Linked DNA regions of Homo sapiens: region 2 is linked to region 1. The links are contacts of gene promoters, found by promoter capture Hi-C in human tissues and cell types (Jung and others, 2019). All regions are on one chromosome and are shown on one strand. The core of a region is centred on a gene start or on the middle of the fragment in contact, and the rest is flanking DNA. Distances in the headings are between cores, read along the strand shown.

Region 1 (5,293 bases), core at 2,223-4,722:
TACAAGCTGGAGCCACAGTGCCCAGCTGACCCCGGCTCTTCATATGTAGAACCTCAGTTGGATTCAGGAGACTGGGGTTCTGAAATGAGTACCTGTGGATGGGGCACTGGCTCACGTAGACAGAAATGGCTTGGCCTAAAGAAGATGATCGACAGAAGGTGCTAGTGAGGAGGTTTTGAGAAAACAGCCAGGGAAAGAAGAAGCCACTTCACAGGGAGGGGCCCCCTGCCAGGACCCAGGGATGGGGCCGCAGAGAGGAAAGCTGACCTGCCGCCCCAGCACAGCAGGCAGCACGTGCTCAGATGTGCTTCCTCATCCACTGCCTTTCATCCTCCCAAGAACCTGGGAAGGGAAACATCACTCTTGTCACAGGCCAAGAAACTGCCAGAGACAACCACAGGCTGTCAGTCTGAACCTTGAGTGGCCTGGACTCCAGCGGGAGGACCCTGTCAGCAGTGTCTCTGGGCTGGCTGAGAGGCTGGCAGCCCAGTCCTGGAGAGAGGCACATCAAAGGCTGGGAGCGCAGATGCCACTTACAGGTTTACAACTTCCACAAGCACAGGCTTCTCTGTCCTGGCCTGGGGAGCTGTGAGAGGAAACTCCCAGGAAGGAGGGACTCTGGGGTATCACAGTCATAAAAGAACAGGACTTAAAGTCCTGAGGCCTGGGTTCCAGCCTTCATTCAGACACCAAACAGTTGAATCACAGAAAGAAACTTCTCCTGAGGCCTCCTTTGTAAATTGTGGGGATTAGACTGGATGATTTCTATGCTTTTAACAACTCTAAATGACCCCAAAATGACTGGAGAAGTCCCCAGCCACACCCTCCAGTGGTGGTTAAGAGCATGGATGCTAGAGCCAGACCATGCTGGCTCAACTATAAACTCTGCCACTTAGTAGCTAAGTTGAACTTGGGCAAGGAATTTAATCATTTCCTACCTCAGTTTCCTTATACAGGAATATCAGCCCCTGTCTTTGCCTGATAGGGTGGTTATGAGAATTCCCTGAGTTCACACATGAAAGGGCAGAGCAGGGCCTGGGGCATGCGAGGTGCTCTTTGTGCATGAGATGCTTCTGCTAGTTGTCAGCACATGCTTGTCTGTCTGTGCCTGCTGGAAATCGTGGGTCAAAAATGTGATTTCCTTTTATTTTTTTTTTTGAGACCGAGTCTCACTCTGTCACCCAGGTTGGAGGGCAGTGGTGCAATCTTGGCTCATTGCAACCTCCGCCTCCCGGGTTCAAGCAATTCTCCTGTCTCAGCCTCCCAAGTAGCTGGGACTACAGGTGCGCACTACCACGCCCAGCTAATTTTTGTATTTTTAGTAGAGATGCAGTTTCACCATATTGGTCAGGCTGGTTTCAAACTCCTGACCTCAAGTGATCCAGCCGCTTCTGCCTCCCAAAGTGCTGGGATGACAGGCGTAAGCCACCGCGCCGGGCCAGAAATGTGATTTCAAATCCATACTTCACATCGGGGTGCATGCAGCTGCTCCCACATGTTCTTTCTCCCTAAGAGTATCCCTTCTTGTGGTTTGACCTTAGAACACTGTTTAGGGTCCAATTTGGGGGCCCATCTTGGGGTGGGAGGATCCTGAGAGGCCCCACACCAGCTGTCAGGCAGGGGACAGGACCAAAAGTTGGGTCTGTCACCTGGGAGCCTCTTTCCTGACTCTCAGGCAGCCTTTAAAGGCGACGCCTTCTGGGATTGAGGATCTCTAAGCTTCCTACCTGACTGGTTTGGAGTTTTCTAAGGAAGGAGGTGAATCAGCACAGTTTACCCCAGCAGTAACTGGCAATCTGGATTCTCCTTGTGGGCAGCAGCCCTGGTGGACTTACAACCGCTCTCTAAGCACTTGACAGAGGCCCTGGCTGGCATGACAGAACAGAAGACTTGCTTTGCTGTGTTCAGATCCTGAGATGGGAGCCCTCAGGCTGGGGCCTCTGAACAGCTAAGGATTCAGCATGAGGAGTGATCCTCAGGAGGATGCAGGGCCTGGGAAGCTAGTAGTTCTCCACAAGGCACAGTTGGCCAGAGGTGAACCAGAGGAACAGGTGGGGCCCACCCAGGACTCCACTGACTGTGCCCACCGTTTGGGGAAGGGAGAACACTGTGACTGTCGTGTGCGTACACGTCTGTCTCCTCCACCTCAGATTCCAAGCATCTCAAAGGCAGAGATCGCCTCTTGGTCACTTCTGTCCCCTTCCCTTACACACCGTAGGTACCTTATACATGGGATCGTGCCATTGCACTCCAGCCTGGGCAACAAGAAAAGGAGGGGCAGGAAGGCCCTGCCCTGAGATGGAGACAGAGAGAGACAAAGAAATGCCATCCTGCCCACAACAGAGGGGAGGCTAGGCCCTGTCCCTCAGTCTCATGACTGCCTGGGTCCTTAGTCCCTAACCTCCTGGGAACTGTCCCCCCTCTCACCCCCATACATCAGAGCTGAACTGGCCACTTGCCCTCTCTGTCTGAGTTAATGGCACTTTTCTTCTCCCAGGCAGAAACCCTGGAGTGATCCTTGTTTCTTGCTCATGTGGGTCAGGCCTGTGGCCATTCACACCTGGTCTCTGCCACCAGTTGTCCCTTCCTTTCTCTTCTCACTGCCACCTCCTAGTTCCCCTCATCTGCTATGCAGCAGCCTTGGAGTGGTTTTTCCTGCACCAAACCACTCCTCATGTCATTGAGTCAATCATATCACTTTCAACATGTCATTCCCCAGCTCAAAAGCACTTTTCTGATTATGAGAGAAAATCTAACCTGGGCATTTGATGCTGGTTACAATCGACTTTGATCTGGCCTTTCCGTAGACTTTCCTTGACTTACAGTCTCAGACACATTCCGAAATCCCACCTAAGCTTCAAAGCACAGCTCTAACCCCTCATCCTTGAGGGGCCGTGGGGCACCTCCCTGTCTGCCGCTTGAGGCCTCCACGCTCACTGGGTCACTCGGCCTGCACAGCCACTACTGCGGCTCATGTGCACAAGTCCAGGGGTCTCTCCCAGCTCGTGGAGGGAGGTGCTCAGGCTTGGACGCCAGCACTGGAAGGGCCGTGGAAAGGAATCGGCCAACCCTCCTGTTAAAAGACGTGGAAACAGGAGCGGAGGCTGTACAGCAAATCAAAGCCGGGGCTCGGATCCCCCCGTCCGGGGCGCAGCCCCGCTCCGCATTTCCCCGGGCCTCGCATCCCTTGGGTGGTCATAACGCGCGCGAACTGACCGGAGCAAGTGGGAAAGCAGGGGAAGCCAGGAGGGCAGGGCCAAGAAGGGGGAAGGCGTAGAACGAGCGCCGGGGTCGCCAGGGCCCGCACGCCCGGCAGGGCCCAGACTCACTTTGCCGAGAGCGTGTTGATGGAGCCGGTAACAAGCATGAGCCCGGCCAGGAACAGCTGGTACTTGGTCCAGGCCATGTCGGCGGACGCTGGGGTTCGCTCCAGTTAGCGGCGCCGGGCCCCGTCACCCGGGGTCTCCTGCGCGAGCGCTTCCGGGCCGGGCGTCACGTGACCCCTCCTGCTCGCCCCGCCCCCGGGGAGCGCGCCTGAGCCACGGTGCCCGCGCTCTGCCGAGTCGTCCTGGAGCGCTTTGGTGGCCACGCCGTGGCCCTGGCAAATCACGGCCCAGGCCTTCCAGTTTTTTTTTTCTTTTCTTCCTCACTCTCCCCCGCCTTTTTGGGTTTCTTTTTTCTATTTTTTTGAGAAGGAGTCTCACTCTGTCGCCCAGGCTGGAGTGCAATGGCATGATCTCGGCTCACTGCAATATCCGCCTCCTGGGTTCAAGCGATTCTCCTGCTTCAGCCTCCCGAGTAGCTCGGATTACAGGCGCCCTTCACCACGCCCGGCTAATTTTTTGTATTTTTAGTAGAGACAGGGCTTCACCATGTTGGCCAGGCTGGTCTCGAACTCCCGACCTCAGGTGATCCGCCCTCCTCCGCATCCCAAAGTATTGGGATTACAGGCGTGAACCACCGCGCCTGGCCTTGGTTTCTTATTTTTATCTTTGGGTCTTCCTATTTGTAAAAGGGGCGGATGGGACAGTGCAGTGAGGGTGCATCGTGGCTATTACAGCATTTTGTGAATCGTTTTGAGAGGTTGAGCTGGGCGGTGTCAGAAAGGAGCCCTGAAGTGGGCCTGCCGGGAGTTCCTTGGGGACCCTGTAGAGAGGAGATTCCCACGCTGGACGTTTCCACTTCGGGGCTCCTATCTGATACCGCCCACCTTGGGCACAGTTCATATCTTTCAGCAAAGTGGCGAAGGCATCTAGCTCCAGTTGCCGAGGACACCATTTTATAGCTGAGGACAGTAAATTCAGCGAAGCAGAGTGATTTGCTTAAGAACCTGCTGGTGAGCAGTGGGGTAGGGATTTGCGCTTGGGTTCTCCAGTCTCCAAAAATCCGTGCCTTCCGCATGGCCTCTGCACCAAGCCCTGCTTCACTGCTCCTTTGTGGACTTTCTGGTCGCAGCTGAGGCATCCAGGCAGAAAGACCATCCCTAGGTTTGTTTGAAGAGGGTGTTGACGAAGAGTCACACTCTAAAATATTTGAAGGGATTTATTCTGAGCCAAATATTTGTGACCATGGCCCGTGACACAGCCCTCAGGAGGTCCTGAGAACATGTGCCCAAAGTGGTCGGGGCGCAGCATTTTAGAAAGACACGAGACATCAATCAAATACATTTAAGAAATACATTGGTTTGGTCCAGAAAGGTAGGACAACTCAAAGCCGGGAGGAGGGGAGAGGGTGGGGCAGGAAACGGGAAAAATATCTATCTATGTTAATAGAGATTTTTGTTTTTTTTTGAGACGGAGTCTTGCTCTGTCGCCCAGGCTGGAGTGCAGTGGTGCGATCTCGGCTCACTGCAACCTCCACCTCCCGGATTCAATCAGTTCTCTGCCTCAGCCTCCCAAGTAGCTGGGACTACAGGTGCCTGCCACCACGCCTGGCTAAATTTTGTATTTCTAGTAGAGATGGGGGGGGTCTCACCATGTTGGCCAGGCTGGTCTTGAACTCCTGATCCACCTGCCTCGGCCTCCCAAAGTGCTGGGATTACAGGCGTGATCCGCCACGCCCGGCCGGTAATAGAGATTCTTTACAGATGCAAATTTTCCCCCACAAAAGACAGATTTGCAGGGCCATTTCAAGATATGGCAAAGAAAAATGTTTTGGGGTAAAATCTTTTGACTTTCTTCTTAGTCACATAATATTATGCCAGAGTCAGATTGGAAAGTAAGTCATGATATATAGGGTTAAATAAAACCCATCTGATGAGAATTTATGGTTTGTAGGGCATGACTCTCCAGAC
Region 2 (5,551 bases), core at 831-3,330, 530 kb after region 1:
TATGGTTTTTTTTGAAGATAGGGTCTCATTCTGTTGCCTAGGCTGGAGTGCAGTGGCACAGTCACAGGTTAGTGCAGCTTCAGCCTCCCCAGGCTCAGGTGATCCTCCCACCTAAGCCTCCTGAGTAGCTGGGACTATAGGCGTGTGCTGTCAGGCCCGGCTAATTTTTGTATTTTCTGTAGAGGCAAGGTTCCATTATGTTGCCCAGGCTGGTCTCGAACTCCTGAACTCAAGTGATCCGCCCACCTTGGCCTCCCAAAGTGCAGGGATTACAGGGATGAGCCACCATGCCTGGCCTATATGTCTTATTTGTATTTCATTTTTTTCTTAACATTATGCAGATTTTTTCCATGCCAATAAATGTTTGTAGACCTATTTGTTTATAGCCTACATATGATTCAAACTCTGAGGATGACCCTGAGTTTCTCCTTTGAGAAGACCTATTTTTAAAGGAAGGGGTGCTTGTAGTGGGCCAAAGCTGCCTGAATAGAAAGCTACTGACTTGCTGGGAGAATGATATTTCTTACTCTCTTCTAACAGTATATTTCTGCCGGATAAGTATATTTCTTATAATCAAAATAGCATTTGATGGTGGTACGTACATCCAGTGCTTCAAATTTAAACCCTTACCTGTATATATTTCCCTTTGGCAGGTAAATACACTGAGTAAAGAGCTACATTCAGAGTTCTCAGAAGTTATGAATGAAATCTGGGCTAGTGATCAAATCAGAAGTGCCGTCCTTATCTCATCAAAGCCAGGCTGCTTTATTGCAGGTGCTGATATCAAGTAAGTTTTAGGAAACTTGAAGTCACCTTTTATCTTGGTTAATAGTGTGTTTCTTAGGCCTAATAATTTCTCCTTTTAAAAGAAAGTAGAAGTGCTGGGCACAGTGACACAGGCCTGTAAAATTGAAAATGTACGTATCAGGCTGGGTGTGGTGGTTCTTGCCTGTAATCCCAGCACTTTGGGAGGCCGAGGCAGGTGGATCACATGAGGCCAAGAGCTCAAGACCAGCCTGGCCAACATGGTGAAACCCTGTCTCCACTAAAAATACAAAAATTAGGCATGGTGGCACACGCTTGTAATCTCAGCTACTCAGGAGGCTGTGGCACGAAAATCCCTTGAACCTGGGAGGCAGAGGTTGCAGTGAGCCGAGATCACACCACTGCACTCCAGCCTGGGTGACAGAGTGAGACTGTCTTAAAAAAAAAAAGTATATACACACACACACACACACACACACACACACACACACACACAGAGTATATATATATATATATACACACACACACACACACACATCATGTGATCTAGAGAAATCTCACCCCTTGTTTATAAGAACCAGTGTACAAGGATGTTTGGTCCTGTGTAGTGTGAAATAATGAAGAATTTAAAACCAAATGTCAGTCAGTAGGAAAATGGGTAAGTAAAATGTGGACTATTCACACAATAGAATACTACAAAACAGGTAAAAGGAATTAACTAGATCCACAATATGATGTTAGAACTCAAAAACATAAGGTTAAGTTAAAAGAAAAGCAAATTGCAGAATGTTTCATACAGTATATAGTTTCTATAAATGTTTTAAAACCAAACATGGAATAATTCTTGATACTATTTATGGACACAATCGTAGTTGGTCTGGAAGGAGACACTACAAACATGAAGATGGCTGCTTTGGGGAAATGAAGTGGGTGGTAGGACTTGATTGTTAAAGGCAGCTTTACAGATGCAGCTAGTATTTTCTTTTCCTCTGCTAAATGGTGGAATGCATGCCTACATTAACTTATTTACAATTGTTTACACATACATAAGGAGGGGAAATGATATTTTAGTGTCAGTTTAATAGGTTAAAATGTTAAGTTGTCAATTCCATTAAAATATGGGTATTTGTTATGTTCTTTGTATTTTAGACAATGATAGCCAGCATTGTAGGTTTAGTAATTTGTACTGAAAGTGTAATTATTTATGTGTAGTAATCAGTCTCTTGTTAGGCACAAATAATTCAGCTAGAAGAAAAACCACTTGATAAGATAATTTTGGGTCTTCTAAAAAATTAACATTAAACAGAACATTTATAAAGTCTAACAAGACACTGATGTACCTGGCAGTAGCTACCTATATCCAGAGGAAAATACATGTAGCTTCTATGAGGCCAGCTGAGCAACTCTCAGTGTATAAAATTACAGAATATACTAGTTATCCTTGGTCAAAAGTACAAAATCCATATCCTAAGTGTGTTCACAAAATAGCAAATGAAACAAACTGAAATTAAAGGACATTGAGTGGAACATCATTGCACCTGATCATTTTTATTTACTTATTTATTTTTGAGACGGAGTCTCCCTCTGCTGTCCAGGCTGGAGTACAGTGGTGCGATCTCGGCCCACTGCAACCTCCACCTCCCAGGTTCCAGTGATTCTCTCGCCTCAGCCTCCCGAGTAGCCAGGACTACAGGAATGCAGCACCACGCCCAGCTAATTTTTGTATTTTTAGTAGAGACGCGGTTTCACCATGTTGACCAGCCTGGTCTCGAACTCCTGACCTCAGGTGATCCACCTGCCTTGGCCTCTCAAAGTGCTGGGATTACAGGCATGAGCCACCATGCCTGGCCTACCTGGTCATTTTTATTCATTAGTGGGATCTGTTAAAATGTTTTAGATTTCTCTAAACAACCTGGAAGCTTTTCTTTTGCGTCATTTTTATTGCTGTTAACTACCTGATAGTGAAATGTTTAATCTGATAGTGAAGTAATTTACCAAAGATGATTTTCCCTTGTACCAAGCTTTGTAATTTAATGATTTATTACAGAAGTAAAAATAAATTATGCAACACATTTATGTTTTCTGGATCCAGAATTTTTTTTTTTTTTTTTGAGACAGAGTCTCACTCTGTCGCCCAGGCTGGAGTGCAGTGGCGCGATCTCGGCTCACTGCAAGCTCCACCTCCCGGTTTCACACTGTTCTCCTGCCTCAGCCTCCCAAGTAGCTGGGACTACAGGCGCCCGCCACTATGCCCAGCTAATTTTTTGTATTTTTAGTAGAGACGGGGTTTCACCGTGTTAGCCGGGATGGTCTCATGGATCCAGAAGTTTAACACTCTTTATGGAGAAATGATGTTGCTGCTATTGTGCTATTTGAAGCAAAATCATTCTTAACCTTCTATTTGAAGATTTGTCATCAAATATTGATGCATGATAGGATAAGTGTATAGTGAATAAGTATTGAACCAAATAAATTATAGTTTTATCTTTTTCTCTGTTCTCTACTTTTATGGATAATGCAGCATGTTAGCCGCTTGCAAGACCCTTCAAGAAGTAACACAGCTATCACAAGAAGCACAGAGAATAGTTGAGAAACTTGAAAAGTCCACAAAGCCTATTGTGGCTGCCATCAATGGATCCTGCCTGGGAGGAGGACTTGAGGTATAGATATTCTAAAGTTATTGAGACACTGTCCAACTCATTGGTGGCATTCATCAGCTGTAAACCCTTAGGCTACTGCTTTGCCTGGAAAAAGTTTCTGGAGGAGAATCCGCTTTGTTTTTTGTTTTTTGCTTTGAGACGGAATTTTGCTCTTGTCTCCCAGGCTGGAGAGCAATGGCACGATCTTGGCTCACTGCAACCTCTGCCTCCTGGCTTCAAACAATTCTCCTGCTTCAGCCTCCCCAGTAGCTGGGATTACAGGTGTGCATCACCATGCCCAGCTAATTTTTGTATTTTTAGTAGAGATGGGGTTTCACCATGTTGGCCAGGCTGGTCTCAAACTCCTGACCTCAGGTGATCCTCCCGCCTCGGCCTCCCAAAGTGCTGGGATTACAGGTGTGAGCCACTGTGCCTAAATAGCTTTGTTTTTAGTTATCAAACTTCTGGATAGGTGTTAATCCTTAATCCACATGACACAGAGCAAGTGGCACAAAGCAAGTAAATGAAGGTGTGATGTTTTCATTTGAACTGCATCTCTAATGTCCTTTTCAGCTGTAAAAATCTTGTTCAAGTTTGCAGGGCAAAGATTCAGAAGTGTGATCTAGGCTCTTAAGCTACTTAAGTCTGGTTGAGACACATAAAGCATAATATAAGTGCTTTGTCAGTAGTAAAGACGGTAAATAATAGAAGATTTGAGAGAAGAGATGCTTACTAGACCCGAACATGTAGGAAAGAAAAGAAGGGGAAAAGGAAACATTCATTGAGCACTTTTCACATGCTGAACTCTGTGCCAGACACTTTCACATATGCAGTCATTTACCACATAACGTTTCAATGACCAATTGCACATACAGCAGTGGTTCTATAAGACTGTAACACTACATTTTTCTATACCTTTTCTGTGTTTAGATACAGAAATGCTTATCACTGTGCCACAGTTGCCTACAGTATTCAATAGTCACATGCAGTCCAGGTTTGTAGCCCCTTAGGACAGGGGTCCCCAGTTCCCAGGCCATAGCCTGTTAGGAACTGGGCCCCACAGCAGGAGGTGAGCAGTGGGCGAGTGAACATTACCACCTGAGTTCCGCCTCCTGTCATATCAACAGTGGCATTAGATTCTCATAAGAGCTGGAACCCTGTTGTGAACTGCACATGAGAGGGATCCAGGTTGCGCACTCCATTGGCCTCTATTGCCTGATGATTTGAAGTGGAACAGTTTCATCCTGAAACCACTCCCTCCCACCCCACCCCCAGTTCTTGGAAAAATTGCCTTTCACAAAACCTGTCCCTGGCGTCAAAAAGGTTGGGGACTGCTGGACTAGGAGCAATAGGCTATCCCATATAGCCTAGATGTGTAGCAGGCTCTGCCATCTGGGTTTGTGTAAGTACACTCTGCGATGTTCACACAACAACAAAATTTCCTAATGGTACATTTCTCAGAACATATCCCCCTCATTATGTGACACATGACTATATTAATTAAGAAAACCTGTGCCTGGTCCTAAACTATAAGCAGAATTTGATTAACCAGAATATGGAGGGAAAAACAATTCCGCATATGGTATGGTGTGAGCAAAGGCAAAAGCAAAGCCAACTAGGACACTGTAAGTAGACGTGCTTGATTGGAGAGTCCGGGGCTTTTTAACCTGGGGTCCATATAAAATTGTGTGTGCATTTTTCTCTTGAGAGCTTCTCTAGCTTTCAGTAGATTTTTTAGGAGATCTACGGCCCAAAAAGAGGTTAGTAAATTAGAGGAAAAGTATGAAAAAAAGGCTAAAAAGGTAAATTCTAGAAATTATTAAATGCCAGCCTAAGGAATTTCAGTTTATTCTGTGAGCACATTCCTGCTTTATAAATAATCTTTAGACCCTTATCCATCTCAAGTTGCTACTAAGTTACATTTTCTAACATTCTAATTTTCTTTCATTTGTTCAAAGGTTGCCATTTCATGCCAATACAGAATAGCAACAAAAGACAGAAAAACAGTATTAGGTACCCCTGAAGTTTTGCTGGGGGCCTTACCAGGAGCAGGAGGCACACAAAGGCTGCCCAAAATGGTGAGTCTAACATCCCCTTTGTGAAGCTATATGCCCTCTTTAGATCTGTTTTCTTGTATAAAATGCATA

Evidence for each region. The method cuts DNA at HindIII sites, captures the fragments that hold promoters and counts their contacts. A contact is called where the count stands out against the background at its distance.
Region 2: a contact is called between a fragment that was not itself captured here and the fragment with the promoter of SLC35F6 in region 1, in 1 of the 25 tissues and cell types used here (mesenchymal stem cells).

Annotation. Positions count from the first base shown.
Region 1 is chr2:26,762,463-26,767,755 of GRCh38, reverse strand. SLC35F6 (solute carrier family 35 member F6) reads right to left here and starts at 3,472. Exons shown (of 6, transcript NM_017877.4): 1 at 3,330-3,472. The coding sequence starts at 3,406. RefSeq lists a silencer at 3,296-3,605 and an enhancer at 3,616-3,815. The HindIII fragment of the contact is 8,469 bases long and covers 2,288-5,293 here.
Region 2 is chr2:26,232,091-26,237,641 of GRCh38, reverse strand. HADHA (hydroxyacyl-CoA dehydrogenase trifunctional multienzyme complex subunit alpha) reads left to right here. Exons shown (of 20, transcript NM_000182.5): 4 at 654-787; 5 at 3,287-3,425; 6 at 5,363-5,482. Among named protein-coding and RNA genes, the nearest start is that of HADHA, 9.8 kb to the left of the region's middle. The HindIII fragment of the contact is 5,257 bases long and covers 1-4,708 here.